3 separate regions of the Homo sapiens genome follow, and all the other regions are linked to region 3. Evidence: promoter capture Hi-C in human tissues and cell types (Jung and others, 2019). All regions are on one chromosome and are shown on one strand. Each heading gives the region's core, a stretch centred on a gene start or on the middle of the fragment in contact. The rest is flanking DNA. Distances are from core to core; before and after follow the strand shown.

Region 1 (3,866 bases), core at 1,067-3,566, 280 kb after region 3:
TCAGCTCATACTGTTATTTAATATGCAGCAGTAAAAATCTAATTAGGCGAGATGAATGAGTAAACAATTATAAAGACTTAACTACCATCATAGACACATTTACTTTTAACCATTGCATTATCCAATAGAAGCTTATATTATTCATATTTTCTCTGATCCTATTAAATTCCCAATATTATTAATTAATTAAATCGGTTAAATTAATGCTAATGCATTATTTTTAAAAGTGGTTTAGGTAAGCACAATATTTTTAAAAACATACATAGCAACTAGCTGAACAGAAAAATGAATGTCCTATACAATTACTTAGTTCCTATAAAAATCATGGCTATGAGACAATGAGACCATTTTTAAACTGTCATGCAATTCAATCCCCTCCCCCTCAAAAAAGCTTTTAAGAGGATCTGAAAACAACTCCCCTAATCAAATTAATAAAATTTCTTGATTACAGACTCACAGTGTTCACTACTAAACATGAATGACATAAACATTATATATATTAGATATATATTATAAATATATATTTTTATATATAATAAATATATATATTTAATATATCTAATATATATAATGTTTATGTCATTATATATATAAAACTCAGTGTCCAGTTGAGTTTTGTTTTCAAAGGAACTCGTGTTTTCACTTCTCCACATTCACTGCCATCACCTAAGTCCATTATTTTTCACCTGGACCTCTTCAACAACTTCCAAATGGTTTCCCTACCAAACTGCAGAAAACTACACAATGTAAGTTTCTCCCTTCATCTAAAGTAATTACATATTTTACTCTACAAATTGTAGAACATTTCACTTGTTCACTATACTTCATTCTAATTGTTCTTCAGGAATTTTATACACAGGTACTGACCCCAAAACTCAGATTAAAGGTTAAAACTCTTTAACCCATTCCCCATAAAATTTCCATTTTCTTCCCTTTCAATGTAAATTAGATTACATCTTTTCCCTTCTTAAAGTCTGTGAGTAGCTTTCCATTGTTCCAAGAGTAATATCCTGTGTTCTTCCACTACCTCCGTGGCCCTGCATACCTCTCTCACCTCATTATGGCATCCCACCTTGGGCTCCCAAAGTGCTGGGATTACAGGTGTAAGCCACCACACCCGGCCAAATGCATGTTTCTAATATGTATCCTCAGACTAGAATATAAGCTAGAATGAAGGCAATGACTGTGTTTCTGTTCACTCATGCTCACCACCTAACGGCATAGTGCAGTCACTTTATGATTCATTGGTGGAATGAGTATATATTTGAACTTTATTTATTTTCCCCCAGTTCACTAAAAAGTACAGTTAATGTAGCATCAAGTCAAAGAGAAATTTTACTTATTTTGGGGAATATGGCAGGAAGAGAGCTAATAAAAAGTCCTTGAAAGCTTCTAAAATTCCCCCTAGGTATCTTAGGAACCATCATTAGCTAATTAATCTTTCAATTAGGAAGTACAGGCTCTATTGTCTCAAATTTCAGATAAAGAAAAGGTAAGAAATGAACAAGAAGTTTCAGGCAATTTTTATTTTTAAATAACTTATTTAATGAGATATATAACTAGGCTATAAAAGAGTATCTAAAATTCCAGAAAGGAAAATCAAGTGAGAATATAATTGATAATTTTCTCTAACATTATGTTAGAGAGAATTGCTTTAACAAGTAATGACTTATTATCCTTATCTCTACCAGAATACAATGAGATATTAATGAGTTTAGAATCCCATATCTCTTTTTTACAGAATAATTTCAATTAATTCAGGTAGCAGGAATGAGGGAGATATAAAATTACAACTAGGCAAACATCACAGTAATTATTGCCACCAAGATCCATTGATAAATGCTAAAATCAATGGATCAAAGTTTCAGGGAAACAGGATATTTGCAGTCTTAAAGAAACGTCTCCAAATATTTATTCCTTACAAAGGGAAAAATACTAACAATGGAGAAAATAGTCAGACACCATTTAACCAAGTGGTCATGGTTAACACAACCAATAGTAAGACATACTAACATCATGTAACCCTGACCAGATGCACCGAGAAAGGCAAAACATGGTAGTCTTGGCAAAAGAACATGTGGTATTCTTGTTAAAAATGTATAATCTCAATCTAATAATGGTAATATATCAGATAGACCCAAATTGAGACAGCCTACAAAATAATGGACAAGTACTCTGTAAAAGAATGGAGGAGGTTAAAGAGACTTACCTAAACACAACAAGGGAAACCGGATGAGAAAATAGTGGAAAAACTAGTTAACTTCAACTAAGATCTGTAGTTAATAGTATTATACAAATACTAATGTACTGGTTTTGATAATTATATGATGTTTACATAAGATGTTTACATTAGGTGAAGTTGAGTAAAGGGTGTACTGGAACTCTGTACTGTTTTTGCAACTTTTCCACAGATCTAAACATTATTTTTAAATAAAAAGTAAAAAAAAAAAAATTGGAGTCTGAATCTATACTCAAAAGATACACTGTTGTAATTATAAACCACCGCAAGTTTTATGGATAGCTCTGATTTCAGGTAACCTTTGTTCTTGTCAAACATGATTTGCTAAACTTACAGACTATCAGTGATTTAATGTTCACATTGGCATAAACCATATTAAAAAGCTTATGAATTAAAGATGGTGTCCCATAGGTCCCTATGGTTTTGTTCACTTTTCTTCATTTCTTTTTCTTTCTGCTTCTATAATTGCAATTGCCCCATTTTCAGGTTCATTGACTCTTTCTTCCACCTGTTCAAATTTGCTGCTGAATCCCTCTTGTGAACAGTTTGTTTCAATTATTGTACTGCTAAGCTCCAGTATTTCTATTTGGTTCATTCTAATAATTTATATCTCTTTTGATGCTCTTATCTCGTTCATACATCACTTTCCTGACTTCCTTTAGTTCTTTGTCTATGGTTTCCCATAGCATTTTGACATATTTAAGACAGATGATTAACGTCTTTGTCTACTAAGTCCAATGTCAGGACTTCCTCAAGGGTGGCTTCCACCAATTTGTTTATTTTTTTCTGTGAATATGCCATCCTTTCCTGAGTCTTTATATGCTTTTTTGTAACTTTCTGTTGAAATTTATATTTCGAATATTATAATGCAGTAATTCTAGAAATCAGATTCCAGAATTCTGGCATTTTCTTTTGATTTTTGAAGGGTTCAGCCTTTTGTTTAGTAACTTTTCCAAACTATTTTTGCAAAGACTTTATTCCTTTTGTTTATGGTCATTAAAGTCTCTGTTTTGTTATCTTACTGATCAGCCAATGGCAGATTTAGATTTCCTTAAATGCCTAAAACAAAAACAAATAGTACTCTCCCAAGTTTTTGTAGTCTGGCTCTCAGCTGAAGTACTCTCACACTAAGCTTGGCCACCTACACTTCTGCCTTAGCCTTCACCTTCTGCTTGTCTAGTGCTCACAGATCTTCCAAAGGTAGAAGCGTAGGCACCTCTCAGGATCTTTCTGGGAATGCATTACATGTAATTTTTGCGGGGGATAAAGATGGGACAAAATTCAGCCTCTACATTGGTCACTCAGGAAACCACTAGACAGATCAAAATGCACAACCACAGTATTTTAAGAACAAAGTCCATACTAAATACAAGCAAGTCACACCAGAAATGTGGGCCATAGTCCCCACAGCTGCTGCCATTGCCACAATGGTGAATGAGGATGGTAATCCAGTGGATTAAATGCCACAGCACTCTGAAATTCAGCTGCCCTCTTCTTCATTATGCAGTCTCCTGGTTGCTGTAAATGTCAGACCAGATTTTAGAATCCCAAAACAGTTGATCCTGTCACTCTGCCCCCTTATGCTTGTTTCAGTGGAGGAACTAACCCTTATAATAAACCACCGTAC
Region 2 (3,478 bases), core at 955-3,454, 400 kb before region 3:
GGCTTCCTCAAATTCGAATGAGATTGAGAGAACTGCTCCTTCTCAAGTGTTGTCTACCCAAGTTCTTTCCCCAGTGTCCACTCACTTCTTAACCCAGGTATCTGGCTTTGGTCCCTACCTCTGACCCAAAGCTGTGTTTTCATTGCTTCTCAAGACCTCTCTACTGCCCAATCACACCTCCCAGTCACAACCTCAGACACTGCTGACCTGTCTCTCCTTGACTCATTGTCCTATCTGTGCCATGACCTTCACAATCCCGTTTTTCCTTCTTTTTTCTCAGCCGCGTTTGTGGGTCCTCTCCTTCCACCTGACCCCATTTGTTGGTGGGCTTGTCAGCTTTGCCCTAGCCTCTTCTCCACACACTCATTCCCTGGGTGGACTCGCCACCTCTGCAGTTTTGAATGCCATGTCTATGCCAATGAATGCAAAACCTCTATCTCTGGCTTAGACCACTTTGGGTTATAAATTCTACTGCACATGTGACATCTCCACATCTACTCATAGGCCTTTCCAATGTAGTGTGTCCAGTAAGAAACTCTTGTTTTTTTTCTCCTAAACGTAGTCTGCCCCAACACCCACCCATTATTTCCTAAAACCAGAGAACTGGGGATCATTCCTCCCTTTCCCCTGCCCACACATTCTCTCCCTCTGCAAATTCTGCTAGTCCTATGCCAGAATCAACCCCAAATCCTGCATTTCTCTTATCCCTGCTTCCACCATCATCTGTCACCTGGGCAAGTACCTAGCCTCCCAACCAGTCTCCTCATGTCCACCTGCACCTCCCTCCCATCTGTTCTCCACCATGGTCTTTTTAAAATTTAAGTCACATCATGTCACTCCTCTACTTACGTCTCTTCAATGTTTTCCCACTGTGCATTGAATCCTCCAGACACCTCCCCACAGCTAACAAGACCATCCCTTTCTGGATCAGCCTGCCTCCTGGCATCCACCCATGGCCCATGCTACTCTCTCCCTCATTCTCGCGTTGCAGCGGTATGACCTTTGACAGTTCCTACAACCTGTCAAGCACTGCCTTTACTGCTCCCCCATAATGAAATGCCCTTCCCCTGGCTTCTCTCATGACTTCCTTGGCCACTCTCTAAGGCAAGCCCCTCTGTTAGACTCTCTTTCACAGCCCTAATCACAACCACCATATTTGTTTCTTATTTACATGTTTATTGTCTGAAGCCTCTGACTAAAACTAGAAGCTCAATGAAAGCAAGAACATTGCTCCCATTTTATCCCCAAGGCCTAACACAGCATTTATCTTATAGAAGGTGCTCAAGATGACATTTAATAAATGAATGTCTCACTGTGGAGTAAGGATTAAATAAGCTAATGCATGTAAAGCACTTTGCACAGTACTTAATCCAGAGTAAAACTTTAATTATCCTTAACCTGTAGTAGTAAATAGTACTATAGTAGCAATAGTATTAATAGTGGTAATAGTAACAGCATTTAAGGAGTTCATTATGGGAACTCAACGCTCAGTAATACCTAATGCAGCTGCAAATCCCTTGGCCTCAAAACCTGTGACTTTTCATTGACTTCTCCTTTCCTTATCTCCTTTTACCTTCACGTGCAATCGGTCCCCATATCTGCCAATATTTCTGTGCCAGTTTCTCTCGGATGCATCTCCTCCTCTCTAGGCTCGGTCATGACCATGATCCTTTGCTCTTCCTGATTAGATTAACTATGCCGGTGCTGCCTGTCTCCCTGTGAAAAGACTCTTCCCATCCCTCCTCCAGGATGCTCAGCGCATTCCTCTCCCTGAAGCACCCTTTCCATCATGTTGCTCCTCTGATTAAGAAAGCACTACAGTGCTTTTGAATGCTATCAGAGCTCCTAGCATGCAGTTCAGGGACTTCCTCCTCCCTCACTCAGCCCTCGTGCACAATTTCTCAAATCAGGTCCTCATCCCAATCAAGCTGGACCTCCTTAACTGGTTCTGCCACACATACCACGTTTGTCCCTGACCCCACATGTGTGCCCACGCTGCTGCCCTGCCCAGGACAGGCCCTGACTTCCGCTCATCAGGCCACATTCAAATTCCTCAAAGTTTTAGCTTAAAATCAGACAATTCTATCATGAACATATCTTGTATCTACTCAGAATTCCAAAGACTTCTAGCTTCTCCATATCTATATAACATTTCTTCCAAATAGACATACATGGCCACTGCCAAGTTCAAGAAAAGAGTATGTTTGTATTCAGCAATTTTCAGTAATTACTTATGTGCACATAAAATTTAGGGCTCTCTTCCCTCCTCCCAAGGGTAGAAATTGAGACGCCACTCACCAACTTTGTCTACACCTCCCTGACGCTGAGTACTTGGCACAGAACTGGCCACACACAAAGAGTGCAGAAGGGTAGCTCACGTTTTATTGGACTACCACAGTACTATGTGTCGGTCACAATCACATCAAAGCAGATCATTTAATCATCATAACAATGCTGTGAGGTGAGTATAACACAGGGAGCTAGACTCAGAGAGGTTATTTATGTTCATTGCCCAAAGTTAGACCGAAGGTAGCAGGGAAGCCCAGACTGAAATACACATCACTCCTACCCCAAAGCCCCAGCTTTCATTTACATTGCCTTGTCTGTGGTCAGTGGCTTTAGACTAAGCCCAGAGGACACACACAGGAGTCAGTGGTGTTTAGGTGGGATCAGGAATCTGAGCCAGGCTGCTTCCTGAACCCTTGATCTCTCATGCTGGGTAGTTCTTAGCTGTGTAGCACCCTTGCATACTCACAATTAGTGCTCGCCCTTTCCAAATAACCCCAACCAAGATACAAGACACCCATGCATCTCAACAGTCATCTGATCCAATCCTCATACCAGCAACCAAGCGAAGATTTTTAGCCTGCATTAGGTGTGTTACCTCTACATGAAGAAGATAATTATATATTCACTTTTCCCTTTTACTTTCTTTTGAAAGGGAATTCATCCACTTTCATTCTCTTTACCCAGGGGCATTCTGCTTGCGACCTTGAGCTCCGGAAGATGTCTGTTTAGAGAGCTTGCCAGAGTATTTGCTTATTTCAGAAAGGAGTATGGCAGCAATTATCAGCTGTAATTGGTATGGCCTTACAAAATCCACACTGGGCTTTCCAGGGACAAGGCAGTGTCAAGTTAAAGCTAGATTATATTGACATATGCAAAGAGAGGGATGCTGAGAGCTTGTGCACGAATCTGTGGGTCCAAATCATGCCGAGGTTAACAACTACATGGAAGCTGCCTAACCACAAACTGTAAGCACTCACTGCATACTCGAAATTACTCAAGGTACTCTGAAAGATGACAAAAGGAGTGAACATCATTCTTGTTTTTGAAATCCTCAATCAGCTAAGATTCTTCAGGACCTGCTTGTACTTCCCATCACTCACTACTCCCTTGGCTGAAGATCTTAAAAACTAAAGAATGATTAGGATAAGTGAGACATTCACTTGTCTTATTCTGCCTAAAATATTTTTTT
Region 3 (3,517 bases), core at 927-3,426:
ACTGTATGGAATTCAGCTAAAAAGACTACAATGAAAATGCCACCTTCTGACAACAGCAACAGCCATTTATGAAGCAGTGAGCTCCTCAATGAAAGAGGCATTAAAGTTGAGGCTGGATGACCATATTTTCTCTCCCCAGAAGTCCAATCCTACCTCTCTTGAGCTTCCATTGAAGTTAATTAGAATCAGGTCTTCCTATAGGGAGTTCAATTTTGTGTCTCCCCCTACACCCAACCCCAACCCCTTGAGTCCATTATCTATCACAGAGTCCATTATCTATCAGGTGCCAATAAACATCTGCTAAATGAATAAATGAGCATTGTAGAAAGGAAGCAGGCATTGGAGGCAGAGATCAGCCTAATAGCCTCTAGGGATCCTCCAGCCTAAAGCTAAACACATCTGAGGGTGGGGAGCCTCCTTCTTATATAAAAAAAATTAAGCATCAATGGACACTTTATTATGATTTATTACTGTACACAATTTAAAACCACAATGAAACCTAACACTGCACTGTGGCTATCTTTGTTCTTGGACGTGCATTTACATGGGCAGGCTACTGTTTTGCCATGTGGAATTTTGTGTGCGAAGTGTTTATTCTTTCTATTAAAAAAAAAACCACACCCTTGTTTCTATTGCATTATTACATTCCCTATTATCCCATCACATGTTTTTTCTTCTTGCAGCAACACAGTACACACCCTGTACTATTGCTGACATAAAAATTACTTGTCAAAAATACCTCTATCTTAGCACCACATTACTCATCTGATCTTTGCAAAGCACTGGCCTTTGTTTCACCTGGGACTAGATAACTCAACTGCTTTTACTAGTGACTCCTGAATGCTTGTAGTAGAAGGATAAATGCTAGTGTCACCTATGTTTTTAAAGTCACCTTCCAAAACAAAACTACATTGGAGGTGAATAATAAATCTTTCAAGTTTTTAACTTCATTTTTCAAGGGATTTGGAGGAAAATGGTGAAGAGAGAATCTGTCACAGATACCAAGGTGTTACTGCAATGTAAAAGAGAGTAGACCAGGAGCCTTTGGCCCTCAGCAATCTGTCTTCCTACAAGAAAAATCGAAAGCCCATTTCCATAACCATTCTTATTCCCTGCTACTAGTGTAGGATGCGCAGGACTCTGCCCTCTAGCAGAAAATGCTAATGCCGGAGTGTCCTGCTAAGTCTGAAGGTTACGTTTTTTCATTGCACTCTTATCAAGATAACCCCAGATCTGGCTAGGCTGACATCAAAACAGAACTATCCTTGGAAAGAAAAGAACAGGCCAGAGTTTTTGGAAAAGCCCCAATAACCTAAAGATAAAATCCAGAATGAGAGTCTACTGGTTCATGGCTATCTAAATGGAAACTTCACTCAAGCTGTTTTCTCTGTTCTCTTTCTGCTGCCCCCAACAGCCCTCCCTTCCACCTCCCAGTACTCACTGCTAGCATGTCTCTCTTAATATTGCAAACACTATTACAATGAAGGAACAGAAGAAAGACAGTATTTCATACGAAGGTCACTGCATTTGACCGGTGCTCAATTAGAGCACTGGGCAAAAGTACAATCAGCCTTCCAATGATACCTTTTCAACAAAGGATACCCCACCTCTAGACTGAAGCCTAAATCTATTACTACAGATAAGAAAGCAGGCATCTATGGAAACCTAACATTCAGATACAACTGCCTGTGTATGAATTATATCAAAATTCCCATGAAAGGAAACCAGGTGGGATTTCTACAATCCCAAATTCACCCTGCACCTACCTCCAATGGCTTCTTCAAAGGGAAGGTATAAAGTCATTTGCAATTTATTTCTTTGAACCAGGAGTTTTAGCAGCCCCCACACCTTCTCACAGATAGGAACGATGTTGATGCAGAAACCACCCAAACAGCCCTGTGCCAGCACTGTCGGCCCAAATGACCCAGAGACACCCAGGCGCTACCCAGATCGTGGGGGGTTACCTGTATCTGTCACCGAGTCTCTTTCACCCCTTCTGCGTGATGACATCAAGTGGAAATGGTACACGTTTAGGAGGCAAGAGGCTGACAGGCAGGAAACACAATTGAGACTGAGCTTTCTTCAGCCTGCAGTGAAATACATGCAGGAAGGGTTAGATACGCGCCGCGGAGAAGGAAATCCAAGCGCCCTCCTGGGCAGACGGGGCTGGAGCGGGTGCACTAGGGAGGTGGAGCAAGGCAGATGAGGTGTGGAGGGCTGGCGGCCGAGAAGGGGGCGTCACGGCTCCTAATTGTCTCTACAGGATAAATAACCACCTCCCCCCTCCTCCGCAGTCTCCCCCGCCCACGAGTTCCCCTCTGGTGGCAGAGCGCCTACTAGCAACAGTAAGCCCTAGGAAAGAAAGAAATCGGAGCAGGTGGGGAATAACATCTTGGGGCAAAGACACACTGGCAAAATCTACCAGGTAACCCGGTCATATGGGAATGCGGGGCGCCTAGTCAGCCGCGCAGACAGGCACACAGCGCGGCAATCCCGAGCATCTTTCTTTCGTTTGCCCCTGTCCGCCACCTCATCAAGTCACCGCCACCTCATCAAGTCACCGTCACCTCATCAAGTCACCGTCACTCTGCTTTGGCGATTTCTCTACTCTCTCCAGACCCAGGCAGCGCTCCCCAAGCCATGCCCCGACCCCAGGCGGGATTGGGGACCGCCGCTTCCCGAGCAGCGCCCCACGAGTCCAGCTGGCTTTGTCCTGCCGCTGTCCTTCCAGGAGCAAGCGCCCCAGGCGCGTGTGTCTGCACAAAAGACCCCCAACATCTGGCCCTTCACAGCGCTCTCTAATCCCGGGAGGGGCCCTGGGGCAACTTCTAGGGCTGGAGAAGGCGCGAGACAAGGGGACCGGGAGAAGATGAGCCGGGGTGTGTGCGGGCCGGGGGCGCAACTGGGGCGGGCGCGCGCGCACGTGCACACCCAGGGGCGCGCGCGGCGCGGGCACGAGGAAAGCTCCCTCGGACCGGAGCTCCAGGGGGCATCCGAGGACTCGGCCGAGCAGCCGACAGCGCCGCTCCCCGCCGCGGCCGCCCGCCCAACTCCGCCAGCTCTCAGGAGACACGCAACTCCCGGGACCACCTCCCCCGTGCCCCGCCAGACCCCGCGCTCCCCTCCCCGGGACCCTGCGGCCCCGCCACCCCCTCCGCGGTCCAGAAGATCTCCCCAGTTACAGCAGGCGGCAGCTGCCCTTTCCCGCTTCCACGGCTTCGGCGCGGCCGCCGTAGGGGCGCAGACATCCCTGCGCACCCCTCTGTCCGCCCCCGATCCGGAGCCGGCAGAGCAGAGAAACAAACCGAAACTCACTGACCTTTCTCCGCGGCGGGCTCGGGTGCTCGCTACAGAGGCGGCGGCGGCGGCGACAGCATCGCCGGGTGGTCCCGGCGCGCCCGCTCCTTTCAGCCAGACTCGCGCCCCGGGCCGGCGGCCGCCGCTCCTCCGGCCGAGAGCCACGGGGCGGACGCTGACAGCGCGGCGGCGGCGCCTGCAGCCCCAGCACCCGGCCCGG

Evidence for each region. The method cuts DNA at HindIII sites, captures the fragments that hold promoters and counts their contacts. A contact is called where the count stands out against the background at its distance.
Region 1: a fragment that was not itself captured here is called in contact with the fragment with the promoter of RNF152 in region 3 in 1 of the 25 tissues and cell types used here (hippocampus).
Region 2: a contact is called between a fragment that was not itself captured here and the fragment with the promoter of RNF152 in region 3, in 2 of the 25 tissues and cell types used here (hippocampus and thymus).

The regions. Positions count from the first base shown.
Region 1 is chr18:62,174,529-62,178,394 of GRCh38, forward strand. All of the region lies in intron 1 of PIGN (phosphatidylinositol glycan anchor biosynthesis class N), which reads right to left. Among named protein-coding and RNA genes, the nearest start is that of PIGN, 11 kb to the right of the region's middle. The HindIII fragment of the contact is 4,111 bases long and covers 262-3,866 here.
Region 2 is chr18:61,491,613-61,495,090 of GRCh38, forward strand. All of the region lies in intron 2 of CDH20 (cadherin 20), which reads left to right. Among named protein-coding and RNA genes, the nearest start is that of CDH20, 160 kb to the left of the region's middle. The HindIII fragment of the contact is 7,772 bases long and covers 1-3,478 here.
Region 3 is chr18:61,890,831-61,894,347 of GRCh38, forward strand. RNF152 (ring finger protein 152) reads right to left here and starts at 2,177. Exons shown (of 2, transcript NM_173557.3): 1 at 1,965-2,177. RefSeq lists a silencer at 3,363-3,512. The HindIII fragment of the contact is 14,100 bases long and covers 1-3,517 here.